Regions from separate parts of the Homo sapiens genome. Here regions 1, 2 and 3 are each linked to region 4. The links are contacts of gene promoters, found by promoter capture Hi-C in human tissues and cell types (Jung and others, 2019). All regions are on one chromosome and are shown on one strand. The core of a region is centred on a gene start or on the middle of the fragment in contact, and the rest is flanking DNA. Distances in the headings are between cores, read along the strand shown. Region 1 has its middle 25 kb from the start of KCNU1. Region 2 overlaps LOC105379364 (a long non-coding RNA gene). Region 3 has its middle 4.7 kb from the start of KCNU1. Region 4 holds the start of UNC5D (unc-5 netrin receptor D).

Region 1 (3,211 bases), core at 626-3,125, 1.5 Mb after region 4:
CATTTGCAAAGTCCCTCTTGTCATGTAAAGTAACAATGTAATGTCACAGGCTCTGGAATTACGGTGTGGATATCTTTTGGGATACATTCTGCCAACTAAAATTGGAAATGATGTTGGCATCTCATCAGACCAGATTTATGGCACAATTTTGACTCTTGCTGTGCCTAGATGGCTTTCAAGCTTGGTTCTACAGCACTTCTAGCTACTCAAGCTACTGTGAGCTGCTCAATATTCCTCTATAAATCCCTCTCCTGCTTGCAGAGTCAACTTTTATTTCTTGCAAGTAAAATTCTAACTGATACAGATCCACATCATTTTTAGCACTGTTGACAAATATTGGATGACATTTCTTAGGGCTTAAAAATTTTTGCCAAATGATCATAGCCCATAGACTGGCATACAAATATATCCTTCACAACTTTAAAATAACAATGACATCTTGGCATAAAAAGCTTCCTTTTCTTTTTTGAGACAGTCCCCTCTGGGGCTTGTGGTATCAATGTCTGTAACTGTCTTATGAAATAATTCCTTATTCTCGACTGACCATTATAAGAGAAAACAATTGAGAAAGTAGTCACCCAAAGACCAACACCTTACCTCTCACTCCCAGTGAGAATCTTCCATCCTACTTTCCCCTCCCTCAGTCTTATTCTCAGTCAAGGTTGTTACACAAACATCATCTGGAATTGCAGAGGAAGTAATCACTCCATATCATTTAACTTCTTGCTACTGTACTTTGAACTAATTGTTCCCCTTCCTCTAGGAACCATCAGAGGTAACCCCACAATGTCTTGCAACCCTGCTGACCTTACGTACCACCTGCACTCTTGTCCCCTTCCTGCTTGGGACCCCTCATAGTCTGGTACATTGCCTTCCCCTTCCTGCCCATGCAAAGCCTACACTGTGCACTTTAGGTAGCCTCACCTGGAAACAGCTAGTCCTTCTTCAACATTTGCTGATTGTGCCTTTACTGAAAGCTGACTTTCCCCAATGGACTCCATTTCTCCAAAACTCCCCCAGTTGAAGGCCTTTTATATCCCTCTCTCATTTCCCCACACTGCAGAGCCATGAGGCAGTATGAGTGTTCTCCGTGCTCCCTCTTGCCTCTTCCATATCCTTTCTCCTTCCTCCTGCAATGTCCCACCTCCTCCGATATTCAAGCCGCCAGAATATACCAGAGATGCTGCTCCCTCCTTGCTATCATCTGCAGACATCTCATTCTTTCCCATCTCTTAACTGAAGAGGTTACCAAGTAAAATGGCTTGCTCCTAAATGCACAGGAAGCCAATATTTTATCCCTGGGTTTTTGAGAAAAGAAAAGCATTTTTTATTGCAAGTTAACTAACAAGGAGACTAGAGTCTAGCTCAAATCTGTCTCCATGTACTGGCTCCAAGGCAGTCATTTTATTAGAAAAGCTTTAGGGGGTGAATTGTGAGATTAGTGGGTAATTGGTAGGCGGAAAGAGGAGGACTAAAAAGTTCTCAGGCATGCACAGGTGTCTCTTCACTGCCTTCTCATGAGTCAGTCGCATGTGCACATTTGACAGGCATTAGTATGAAACATGTGGTCGAAATTTGGGCTGTGACGTCAGCAAGCCCATTCTTTATAGACTTCAGTTGGTCATATTGGTTCCAATCAATTTTAATCAATTTTTGGCAGTCTTTTAAATCTCGTAAGTTGGGGGAGCTCCAGCATTTCAGCAAGTCTTTTGTTGTTATTTAATCTCCCATCCTACAAACTCATGAATATGTCTTAGTCATTAGTTTCTTTAACTATTTTGGGCACAGTTTCAATTTGATATGGTTTGGCTGTTTTCCACCCAACTCTCATCTTGAATTGTAGCTCCCATAATCCCCACAGATTGTAGCAGTGACCTAGTAGGAGATAATTGAATCATGGAGGCAGTTTCTCCCCTATGGTAGTGAATAAACCTCGTGGTAGTGAATATGTCTCATGAGATCTGATGGTTTTATAAGAGGTTTCCCTTTTTGCTTGGCTCTCATTCTTCTCCTGCCTGCTGCCAGGTAAGATGTGACTTTGCTGCTCCTTCGCCTTCTGCCATGACTCTGAGGCCTTCCCAGCCCTGTGGAACTGTGAGTTCATTAAATCTCTTTCTCTTCTAAATTACCCAGTCTCGGGTAAGTCTTCATTAGCAGCATGAGAACAGACTAATACACAATTCTTGTGGTCTCTGCTCAGATTCCACCTTCTTAAAGGAGCCTTCCATGCCACCCCATCTGAAGTCACTTTACCTCCACCCCATTTCGTCTCTAGCCCATCATCCTGTTCATTTCCTTCAGAGCATGTATATTCTGAAGTTTTTTTAATTATTTTATTCATTGGTTTAGTGTATGTTTATCCTCATTAGAATAAGCAAGGTCTTCATCTTTCTATTTCACAGATATAACCTCAGTACCTAGAATAGTGTCTGACATTTTAAGAAAAATTACCTACCTGAAATTAAGTCACAGTTACATGAAGTTCTACCTTGATGTTTCACCCAAATAGCCAATTTTCCTACTGCTATTGATAGAATAGTAAGCTTTGTTCCTGCTAACATGCAATGTTTTATGATATATTACATAGCGATAAAGGGATTTTCTACTCAGTCACTTGGATGCATTTGTCTGACTGTTCTGGCAAAGCCAAATTGTTTTCATTACTGTGACTTGATAAACTTGGTAATAACTAGTAGGACAAGTTTCTTCCCACCCCTCCTTTTTTTTTTTTTTTTTTTCAGACGGAGTCTTGCTCTGTTGCCCAGGCTGGAGTGCAGTGGCAAGATCTTGGCTCCCTGCAATCTCTGCCTCCCAGGTTCATGCTATTCTCCTGCCTCAGCCTCCCAAGTAGCTGGGACTACAGGCGCCTGCCACCACGCCAGCTAATTTTTTTTAATATACTTTTAGTGGAGACGGGGTTTCACCGTGTTAGCCAGGATGGTCTCGATCTCCTGACCTCGTGATCTGCCCGCCTGGGCCTCCCAAAGTGCTGGGATTACAGGTGTGATCTTTTCCCCTTTTAAGCTTTTCAGAGGAAGTCTCTTTTATATGGACGTTAGAGTTCAACCTATTAGGGCACTTTCAAGGTACAATGACAATGGAGTAAATCATGAGTGGAAAAAAAAACTTAAATTTGATTATATAAAAATATGAACACTTTGGGAGGCCAAGGCAGGCGGATCACCTGAAGTCGGGAGTTCGAGACCAACCT
Region 2 (2,966 bases), core at 159-2,658, 1.3 Mb before region 4:
GAAAAAAATTCCTTTAGGTGCCGATGTTCTGATGTGTTTCCCTTTTAAAAAAAGTTTCTTTTCCACATGCACACGTATGTTTATTGCAGCACTATTTATAATAGCAAAGACTTGGAACCAACCCAAATGCCCATCAATGATAGACTGGATAAAGAAAATGTGGCACATATACTCCATGGAATACTATGCAGCCATAGAAAGGAATGAGTTCATGTTCTTTGCAGGGATATGGATGAAGCTGGAAACCATCATCCTCAGAAAACTAACACAGGAACAGAAAACCAAACACTGCATGTTCTCACTTCATAAGTGGGAGTTGGACAATGAGAAGACATGGACACAGGAGGGGAACATCACACACTGGGCCCTGCTAGGGGGTGGGGGGAAAGGTGAGGGAAAGCATTAGGATAAATACCTAATACATGCGGGGCTTAAAATCTAGAGGGCGGGTTGATAGGTGCAGCAAACCACCATAGCACATGAATACCTATGTAACAAACCTGCACATGAAAGTTCACCTACCTATGGCGATTATCCCTGGTTACCATTTAGCTGTGTCTTAGTCTGTTTGGTCTGCTATAATAAAATACCATAAACTGTGTGGCTTATAAGCAATGGAAATGTGTTTCTCATGGTTCTGGAGACTGAGAAGTCCAAGATTCATGGAGCCAGCAGATTCAGTTTCTGGTGAGGGCCTGCTTCTTAGTTGGTAGACATCTGTTCACTGCATTCTCACATGGTGGAAGGGGCAAGGCAATACTCTGGGGTCTCTTTTATAAGGGCACTAGACCCATTCATGAGGGCAGGCCCTCATGACCTAATCACCTCCCTAAGTCCTCACCTCCCAATGCTTTCACAGTGGGGATTAGGTTTCAACATGTGATTTTTGGGAGGACACAAACATTCAGACCATAGCAAGCTGTTGCTGGACACACAGAGCTTCACCTAAAAATTCAAAGGTTGTCTTGGGGGATAATAGGCACTCTTGTGTGGTGGCATTACCTTTTGGAATTCCCAGGGTGGTCTTGCTCACCACTCTTCATTTCCAGCTTCCTTCTCCCAAGTGAGTTAGGCCGTTGCTCCAGGCCTCCTGATGGTCCGTTCCCATTGCAGCACTTTCCTGGTCAACTTCCTTTTCATTCAAGTTGCTCTCGCTGTGATATGGTTTGGCTGTGTCCCCACCCAAATCTCATCTTGAACTGTAGTTCCCATAATCCCCACATGTCATAGGAGGGAACCAGTGGGAGGTAATTGAATCATGGGGGCAAGTACTTCTGTGCTGTTCTTGTGATAGTAAGTGAATTCTCATGAGATTTGATAGTTTTATAAGGGGATTTGCCCCCTTTTGCTGGGCACTTCCCCTTGATGCCACCATGTAAAGAAGGTTGTTTGCTTCCCTTTCTGCCATGAATGTAAGTTTGGTGAGGCCTCCCCAGCCATACTGAACTGTGAGTCAAACCTCTTTGCTTTTTAAGATACCCAGTCTCAGGTCTGTCTTCATTAGCAGTGTGAGAACAGACTAATACACCCTGGCTAAGGACTCTAACCTGACTCTGACATTGTTGCCCTGGGCTTTTGAAGCTGTATCCCAGCTGATTCCTAGAAACTAATTCTCCCAAGGATATTGGTGCTTCTCAGGAATGAGAATGGAATTTTGCCCCAGCACTTGGAAATGCTTTCACAGGAGCAGTAAATGTCTCTCTTGTATAAATAAAATTGCCTGGGCTTTGCACTGCTCTCGGCTCATTTCCATTTTGCCTCCTCTGTGACTAGCTCCTCCTTATTCTCAGAGTATCCTAGGGACGGCATTTTGTCGTAGCATACTATTATTTTCTCTGAAGGAGGGTACATCAGAAAAGGGTTACTTTGAGTCACAAAGTATACACAAAAACTCCAGTTACCTAAAATACTCTTGGAATGGGATTTTCTCATTAGTAGAAATTTCTACTTAGAGTAAGACAAATTTATGTCTATTATTATCAAAATATAAAGCAATCTTCAGTAGTAATGTAGTTAATAATAGCAAACATTTACCAGGCATCTACTATATGCTAGGCGCTGTCATTACACTTACTCCCAATCTCATTGAAGTCTACCAACAACTTTAAGAGGCAGAATGGTAATTAATCCCACTTTATTGATGAGAAAACTGAGTCACATAAAGGTTAAATTACTCATCCAATGTGACATAGTTAATAAATTAGTAAGAGGCAAAGTAGGGATTTGGACCCAGGAATGTTACACGTGAGAACCCAGGCTTTAGGTTTATGATATTACCTCCACACAGACAATAGGCAGTCTCAAAACTTCTGAGATGAGTTTGTGTTTGTAAGAGTTTACTTTTCAAGGATACCCTCCTCTTTTCATGTTAACACTCTCAAACCGCTCCTTATATACCCTGTTATACAAATCTCACTCCTTTGAGGTCCTTGTTATTCAACTAAACTGTCATCCCTCTCTAGTGACTGTCTAGTCCCTCTCCTTCACCATCCCAAAGGGAATAAATCCAAGTGAGTAAGTTATCTCCTGTCAGATCCTTAGTCTTCTTGTTTCCAGTGAGAGTTGGAGTACATTTTGCAGTCTACTTTGCAGTCAGATGAGACCCAGTGACTGGGTTCTGTTCAGTTGCACTCAGGCCATGATGATGTAATGTTGCCTCCAAGCCAGGGCTGGAAAATCACCCAAACACTCCTTCTAGGTCTCTTTCTTTGTTCTTTGGCTGGCCTCATGCCATGGGCAGTGGTCACTAGGGGATGGTTTACCCAGGCTCTGCACTCACTGTCTCCCTTCCATCACGAGGTCTTTGTATGCTCTCCTCCTCAAAAACTCCCTTCTTCCCTCTTCATCCAGGTGAAAGCTGTTCTCTCTTTGGCCTACAGCTTCCTCAAGAACACCCTTCCTATCCTGCTAATTAGGTCACATTAACCAGTATGAGTTATCAGAGCACCATGAGCCTCTCCTTCTTA
Region 3 (3,357 bases), core at 42-2,541, 1.5 Mb after region 4:
TCTAAGTAAAGACTTGGTGACTTAAATAACTCCATGTACACACCTTGAGAAAGTGAAGCTGTAATCTTTAAGTCAATTTCCTTAGTGAGAGATATAAGAACTCAGCAAGGAGAGATTTCCCTGGAAGCAGCTGGCTGTAATGGGCTTTCACCATGACTCTAGTGCTCTGTGGCATTACAGCCGTTTCCATCCCCAACTTCAGACCTGCTTCTGCCATTGACTGGCTGCATGAATTGAGGACTGAGGCTTAGCATTTCTCAACAGTGCAATTTCCCAATGGTATGAATGTGCTCTGAGGATATAAAAAAAAGCTCTGCTTATAGAAATAGAGAAATGTGGGGTTATAGCATTAAGTGCAATGGATGGATTTAGGCACTTAAAAAGGCAACATTACAATATAACTTATTACTTCCAGAAGCATTGCAAATACACACACACACACACACACACACACACACACTCATTCCTGAGTGCTGCTATCTACACTTAAAAATGTAATTCTTACTTTCCTTTCTCAGATATGGCATGTTGCTTGAAGAGAATAAATTTTTAAAATTAAACATTTATTCAATCCCATTATAAAGTATAATTTTGCAGAATATTTGAGTGCCCAGAGGTAAATTACAGAAATGTGTACAAAGTGAAGCAATTTTTCTAATCAAATCACTGACATGTTAAAAAATTCATCTGAACTTAAAAAAAAAGGAAAAAAAAAGAAAAGATTCCGTAGCACAGTCTTCACTTCTTAGATTTACTATTAAAGGCATGGCAGTGAAAAGCCCCCAGAACTACCCAGAGGTATCACTCAGAGACCCAGGATCACCTTTGAGGCTTCCTGGCCCTCATGTCCCAAATGCTGATTTTTCCCCAGACATCACTCACACCTGCCCACTTGTGTCTCTTCCCACCAGCCCCATCCCATCAGGACTAGCGTCCTGTCACTATCGAGACCAGCAGTCTCTGCATGAAAACCAGTGTGATGCTTTTACAATCGAAATGCAATGACTTACCTCCCTTCTTTAGAACCTATCAAATATTTCCTCTTGACCTTAGGATAAAGTTGTTCTTGGTTTAGCCTAAGCTGGAACACAAAGCCTTGCATAATCTGGTTCCCTTTGAGACAGCCAGGTTGGAAAGGGTCCCCGGAAAACCTCCAACGAGCCTGCGCACTAGGAGAAATGCGCACTGGGGTGGAGACACAGAAGTTCGTGCCCTTTGGAGCAGGGAGGAGCCTGGTCCCTCCTCTTCCTGTGTGGAACCCGGGATTCAAGCTGCAGGCGGGAAGCGCTCTAGCAGGGGCTCGCCTTGCGAGAGTCCCTGATTCGAGCCTCTTTTCTTCCTCTTCAATCAATACTACTCTCTCCTACTCACCATTCAAACCGTCTATGAGCCTAAATTTTCACGGCCATGGGACGGACAAGGACCCCGTCTTTAGCCGAACTAAGGAAAAGTCCTGCAACACCTTTATACACGCCCAGCCTTCTTTTGGGTCACTGTGTTCCATCTGGCCGATGATTAATGCACTTCAGCACTTTGGGAGGCCGAGGCGGGCGGATCACGAGGTCAGGTGATCGAGAACATCCTGGCTAACACGGTGAAACCCCATCTCTACTAAAAATACAGGAGTGGTGGCGGGCGCCTGTAGTCCCAACTACTCGGGAGGCTGAGGCAGGAGAATGGCGTGAACCGGGGAGGCGGAGTTTGCAGTGAGCCGAGATCGCGCAACTGCACTCCACCCTGGGCAACAGAGCGAGACTCTGTCTCAAAAAAAAAAAAAAAGAAAGAAAGAAAGTGCATTCTCCTTTCCACATATCTTCTCAGCCTGATCATGTTCTACCCCAGCCTCCTTAACCCCTTCTGTTGTCCTGGCCTGGGAAGCTTCTCATTCTACAGACCTCAGCTTCAAACATGACGTATTTGAGGTAGCTTTCCTGACCCCCTCGATCCTCACCAGATTAGTTTATTTTCTAAACACTTTTTGCAGTTTGTTATTGTAAATGTCTTCCTCAGTTGACTCTCTTCTATGAGGGAATGAACTAGATTTGTTTTGGTGTCCCTGGTGCTCCCAGTCCTTGGTATAAGGTAATTGTTAAACACATACATACACACACACACACACACGACGAAGATTCTAGCTTGCAGCTGGTAGTCAAAAAAATAGTTACTGTTTTTTATCCTTATCAAACCATCAAGTACAAGGAGAGTACTATCTTAATTACTGTGAAGGGTATCATTGCTTCAAAGTTCCCTACCTTCCAAGTTCTGAACACTGAACTGCTACCAAGCTACGAAGGGCTTTGCCTAGTCACATGTCCACCCATCACCAAATAACTCACTAACCGAGAATAATTACCATTTTTTTTTTAAGACGGAGTCTCACTCTGTCACCCAGGCTGGAGTGCAGCGGCATGATCTCGGCTCACTGCAACCTCCACCTCCCGGGTTCAAGCGCTTCTCCTGCCTCAGCCTCCCGAGTAGCTGGGATTACAGGCACCCACCACCCCACCTGGCTAATTTTTTTGTATTTTTATTAGGGAGGGGGGTTTCACCATGTTGGCCAGGCTGGTCTCAAACTCCTGACCTCAGGTGATCTGCCTGCCTCGGCCTCCCAAAGTGCTGGGATTACAGACGTGAGCCACCGCATCTGGCCATAATTACCAAATTTAAATTTGCAAAGATGGTGACACTTTGACACTTGATCCAAATCAGGTGCCCTTTTCACTACACACACACACACACACACACACACACACACACTTACACACATGCACACACACTATGAACCATGCATTACACACTATGGATGATGCTTTCATCACAAGAACAGTTTGCCGTCAAAGATGGAGAATATGGAGCAGAGAAATCTGGATAACTTAGGTTAAGGTTCATGCAGATTCAGTATTTCATTCACCTAACAAATATTTTTGAGGATCAGCAATGTATTCATTCAATCGCCAAATATTTACGAAGTCTACACATTCCCAGGTATGTGCCAGGTACAATACTAGACACAGAGTAATCGGTGATGAGTAAAGCGGAAATGATATCCCGTGCTTGTGGAGCTTATAGTCTTGTGAAAGGAGATAGAAAATAAACCAGGCAACAAGTAAATCACATAACAACAAATCTTGAGTACCATGAAGTGCTATAAAAGAAAGGGTCAGAAAGCCGTAAGAGAGACCAAGGGAGAACTGAAGGACAACAAAATAGCAGCCACTATTGAAGTGAGTGCTCTGGGCAGAGGGAACAGAGGCATTGTGCTATAAGGGCCTGGACCAGGAAAAGGTTTGCATGTCCTCATAGCTAAGAGGAGGCAGTATGATTGGAGCGCAGCATAGATGATGTGTCGTGGGATGG
Region 4 (3,319 bases), core at 487-2,986:
CAATCTTTTTTGCCTATTATCTTCCTTTTCCTCGGAAGAAAGTGAGTTAGTGCAATTACCTCATCTAGAACAATTACCTCACCTTAAACTGTTTATTCTTCAGAGAAAGGCGTTTGGGAGCAGGTAGCACATTGGCGGGAGACATGGATTTTTGAAAAGTACTTGATGTTGAGCGTGGGTAGTGAGGAACTGCTGGGAAGGTTGCCTTTCAAACCAAGGCTCCCTTTTCTATGGGGGATTACCAGGCAAAAGGTGAGCTCTGCTGCCATTTTGAGGACTCGATCCTGGCAGCGATAATGAGGTAGTCCAATTGGGGAGCCTGGGACTCCCCACCAACTTCCTGGGTGTGCTCTGAAATTGAGTGACCTAGGACAAGCTCTCTAAAGTTACTCCTCCAGCAGAGGGAAGAGGCAACCGTGAGGTATTTTCGAAAGCAGTTAAATAAAAATTTGATAATCTATCTAAAACAAGCCACACTTAAAAAAAAAAAAAAAAAGAGTCTTCTTTCCTTCTTCTTATAAAAGTCCAGCGCGTTTCAAAGTCCTTTTAATTGTCAGGCCCAGAGAGACATTAGAATGAGACCACAATCATGCCCTACTCCTTCCTTTAAACTATATATTCATTTCTTAAAACTACATACTATTACTACAAATAGCTATAAATTAACCTAATAATACCACATCAAACAGTATAACCCACATCCTATGACTTAACTATATATAACTAATCACTAATCGACATTATTTCAATAAATCAGTATAAATTCCTAACAATGTTACATCAGTCCACTCCCCATCCCCCTTTTTTTTGCCTTTAAGAATCCACTTATAACTACTACTAATCAAAATATATATTCAAAACAACTTAAATCTATACTCCTGAGTTGCAATCCTCACACTTGGCCCAAATAAACTCTTACTTATATTAATTTCGCCTCACCTTCTTCCTTTTTAAGTCGACACTCCTTTCCCTGATACTTACCAGAAGGCAATTCCTTGGGCTCAGATTAAAACTGACAAAAATAGGAGCCATTCGAAATGAGGGAGCTTCTGAAAAGTTTGGGGATTCCGGAGTGTTCAGGACAACAGAATAGGGAATTCGAAAAAAAAAGAAAGCAAAAATAAAAATCGATTATACAAGCCTTAATGCACCCATGATTGTTATTCCCCACTTCTTTATTTATATGAATGAAGTTAGCATAGTTGCAGCAATGGAGTAACTCCATTATTATTTTTTCCCACTACGCATTTATTTTAAGTCTTTCTTTTTCTCAGGATGTTTTCCTGAGTGATGTCTGATCTAATGGGAAAAAGTGGAAGTAGGAGAGGCAGGACTTTAGAAGGGCTCAAAGTAGATGAACAAAACGGAGGTCTCCTGGAAGCAGGTGACTGAGTTAGGCAACCGAGATGCCCACATATCTGTGCGGCGTTCGCCCCAAGAGGCCAGCCGGCTCCGCTCAGCTCCCCGCGGCGTGGCCGCATCCCCGCCGCCCGACTCCCAGCCCGCTTCCTCTCTCCGCGAGCGGGGGGGGGAGCTGCAGGCGGGGCCCGAAGCGCCCCGGGGGCACGTGGAGCGGCCTCTGGCTCACCTGCGCCTCCCGGGCCCCAGCCCAGCGCCGCCGCGTCACCGCCCCTCCCGCGGCCCCGCCCCAGCCCGGCTCATTGGCTGCCGCTCGGAGGGGAGGGGAAGGGGCGGCTGCGGGGGTCTCATTAGCGATGCGGACTCTCGCCTCCGCTCCGTAGTTCGGGGCCCGGCAGCGGCGCGAGGGCTGGGAACTGCGCGGCGGGGACTGCGGGCGACTCCGGCATCCGCGCTGGCGGCAGCGGTCGCCGCGCCGTGGGAAGCTATGGGGACGCGCCCTTTCTCGGGGTGCCCATTCAGCGGCGGCTCGGAGCTCCCTGCCCCGCTGCTTTAGGAAGCGATCGTGGAGCAGAGTCACTCTCTGAAGACTCCCGAGACCCATTCGACTCGGGACCCTCATCGCCGACCCTTTCCCGGGCTCCCGGAGCGTGAAGAAGAGCCGCCCTCCGGAACGCGGCGAGGAGCATGGGGAGAGCGGCGGCCACCGCAGGCGGCGGCGGAGGGGCGCGCCGCTGGCTCCCGTGGCTGGGGCTGTGCTTCTGGGCGGCAGGGACCGCGGCTGCCCGAGGTAAGCGCTGGGCGGAGCGGGCAGCTGGGGGCGAGGGCGCAGGGGCGCCAGCCTGACGGAGCGGGACCTGCACCGATGGCGTTGGCTTCCCAACTTGCGCCCTGCACCTCGGCGCTCCAAGCCCAACCGGATGGGAGCCGAGTGGAGGACTCCGAGGGGACCACAGCCTTCCAACCCAAGTTTGCGATCTGCCGCAATCCTACAGGTGGCTGTGACCCGGGCCCCTACCGTTTTCCTGGACCCTCCTTGCCTGCTCCATTTTCCAAGCCCTCCCCAATTGCTGCAGACTGGAGTAGCCCGGTCTTCACTCCAATCTCGCTCTCCCCTCTCCTCTCCACTTCCTCTCAAGCCGAGCTTGGTCATGAGTTAGCGCCCATAGCGATGTCGGAGAGTTCCTGGGGAGAGGGGCCAGGTGATGGGAGTGTCTGTAGGGTGGGCTTGAACAGAGAGGGTGTCTTTTCCCTTAGGGGAGGAACACCCATGCTGAAGTCCCTTCGCTCTGCGCCTAGCTTGGCACCCCTCGGGCGTCCTTAGCCCGAGGTCCCAGCCAGCCCTGGAGCTCGGGAGAGCGGCGTGCACCATCCCAGTTTAACCGCGCCTGCAGTGCCCAGCCGGGATGAGCACTTGGCCCGAGGCTGCTCACCAGGCGCCTCCTCTCCCTTCCCGGCGCCTACTCTGGCTTGGAAGCGCGGGCCCCACCGAGCCGCAGGGAAACCTCTGCTTCTTTCCGACTTAGAAGCCTAGACCCCATTTTCTTGGATCCTCTGGACTCCAGCAGAGGGAAATTTCGCAACTGGTTTCAGCTCCACCTTGAGCGAGGACAGGCAGCATCAAGTTAAAGATAAATCCCAAGGAGTTGTTTTGAAGATGATCAGAGGCAGTTTCAGACACAGCTCAAGTACCGGAGCTTTACCTTTGAAAAAAATCGGAAGCTTTGCCTTCCCGCCCTTCTTTCCCTTTTTCCTTCTCTGTGTTCCATCCATCAGGCTTAGAATATGTGATACCGTTAAATGATTTGCCTTACACTTGCCAGGGGAGAGGTGGAGCTGAGCTGACCACTTCACCTGCTCTGTTCGGTCTCCTGAACATGCTCCGACCAGCCTGGAGAGTGAAAGGGTGGAAAGGGTTGAGGACGATCACAAAAGAACCAATGTTATCTCATTTTTATAA

The links. The method cuts DNA at HindIII sites, captures the fragments that hold promoters and counts their contacts. A contact is called where the count stands out against the background at its distance.
Region 1: a fragment that was not itself captured here is called in contact with the fragment with the promoter of UNC5D in region 4 in 1 of the 25 tissues and cell types used here (dorsolateral prefrontal cortex).
Region 2: a fragment that was not itself captured here is called in contact with the fragment with the promoter of UNC5D in region 4 in 1 of the 25 tissues and cell types used here (dorsolateral prefrontal cortex).
Region 3: a contact is called between a fragment that was not itself captured here and the fragment with the promoter of UNC5D in region 4, in 1 of the 25 tissues and cell types used here (dorsolateral prefrontal cortex).

What each region holds. Positions count from the first base shown.
Region 1 is chr8:36,758,211-36,761,421 of GRCh38, forward strand. No RefSeq gene overlaps it. Among named protein-coding and RNA genes, the nearest start is that of KCNU1, 25 kb to the right of the region's middle. The HindIII fragment of the contact is 3,119 bases long and covers 317-3,211 here.
Region 2 is chr8:33,927,757-33,930,722 of GRCh38, forward strand. All of the region lies in intron 2 of LOC105379364 (a long non-coding RNA gene), which reads left to right. Among named protein-coding and RNA genes, the nearest start is that of DUSP26, 330 kb to the left of the region's middle. The HindIII fragment of the contact is 5,310 bases long and covers 1-2,966 here.
Region 3 is chr8:36,778,028-36,781,384 of GRCh38, forward strand. No RefSeq gene overlaps it. Among named protein-coding and RNA genes, the nearest start is that of KCNU1, 4.7 kb to the right of the region's middle. The HindIII fragment of the contact is 4,036 bases long and covers 1-3,309 here.
Region 4 is chr8:35,233,739-35,237,057 of GRCh38, forward strand. It overlaps UNC5D (unc-5 netrin receptor D), which reads left to right and starts at 1,737. Exons shown (of 17, transcript NM_080872.4): 1 at 1,737-2,149. The coding sequence starts at 2,047. The HindIII fragment of the contact is 15,361 bases long and covers 1-3,319 here.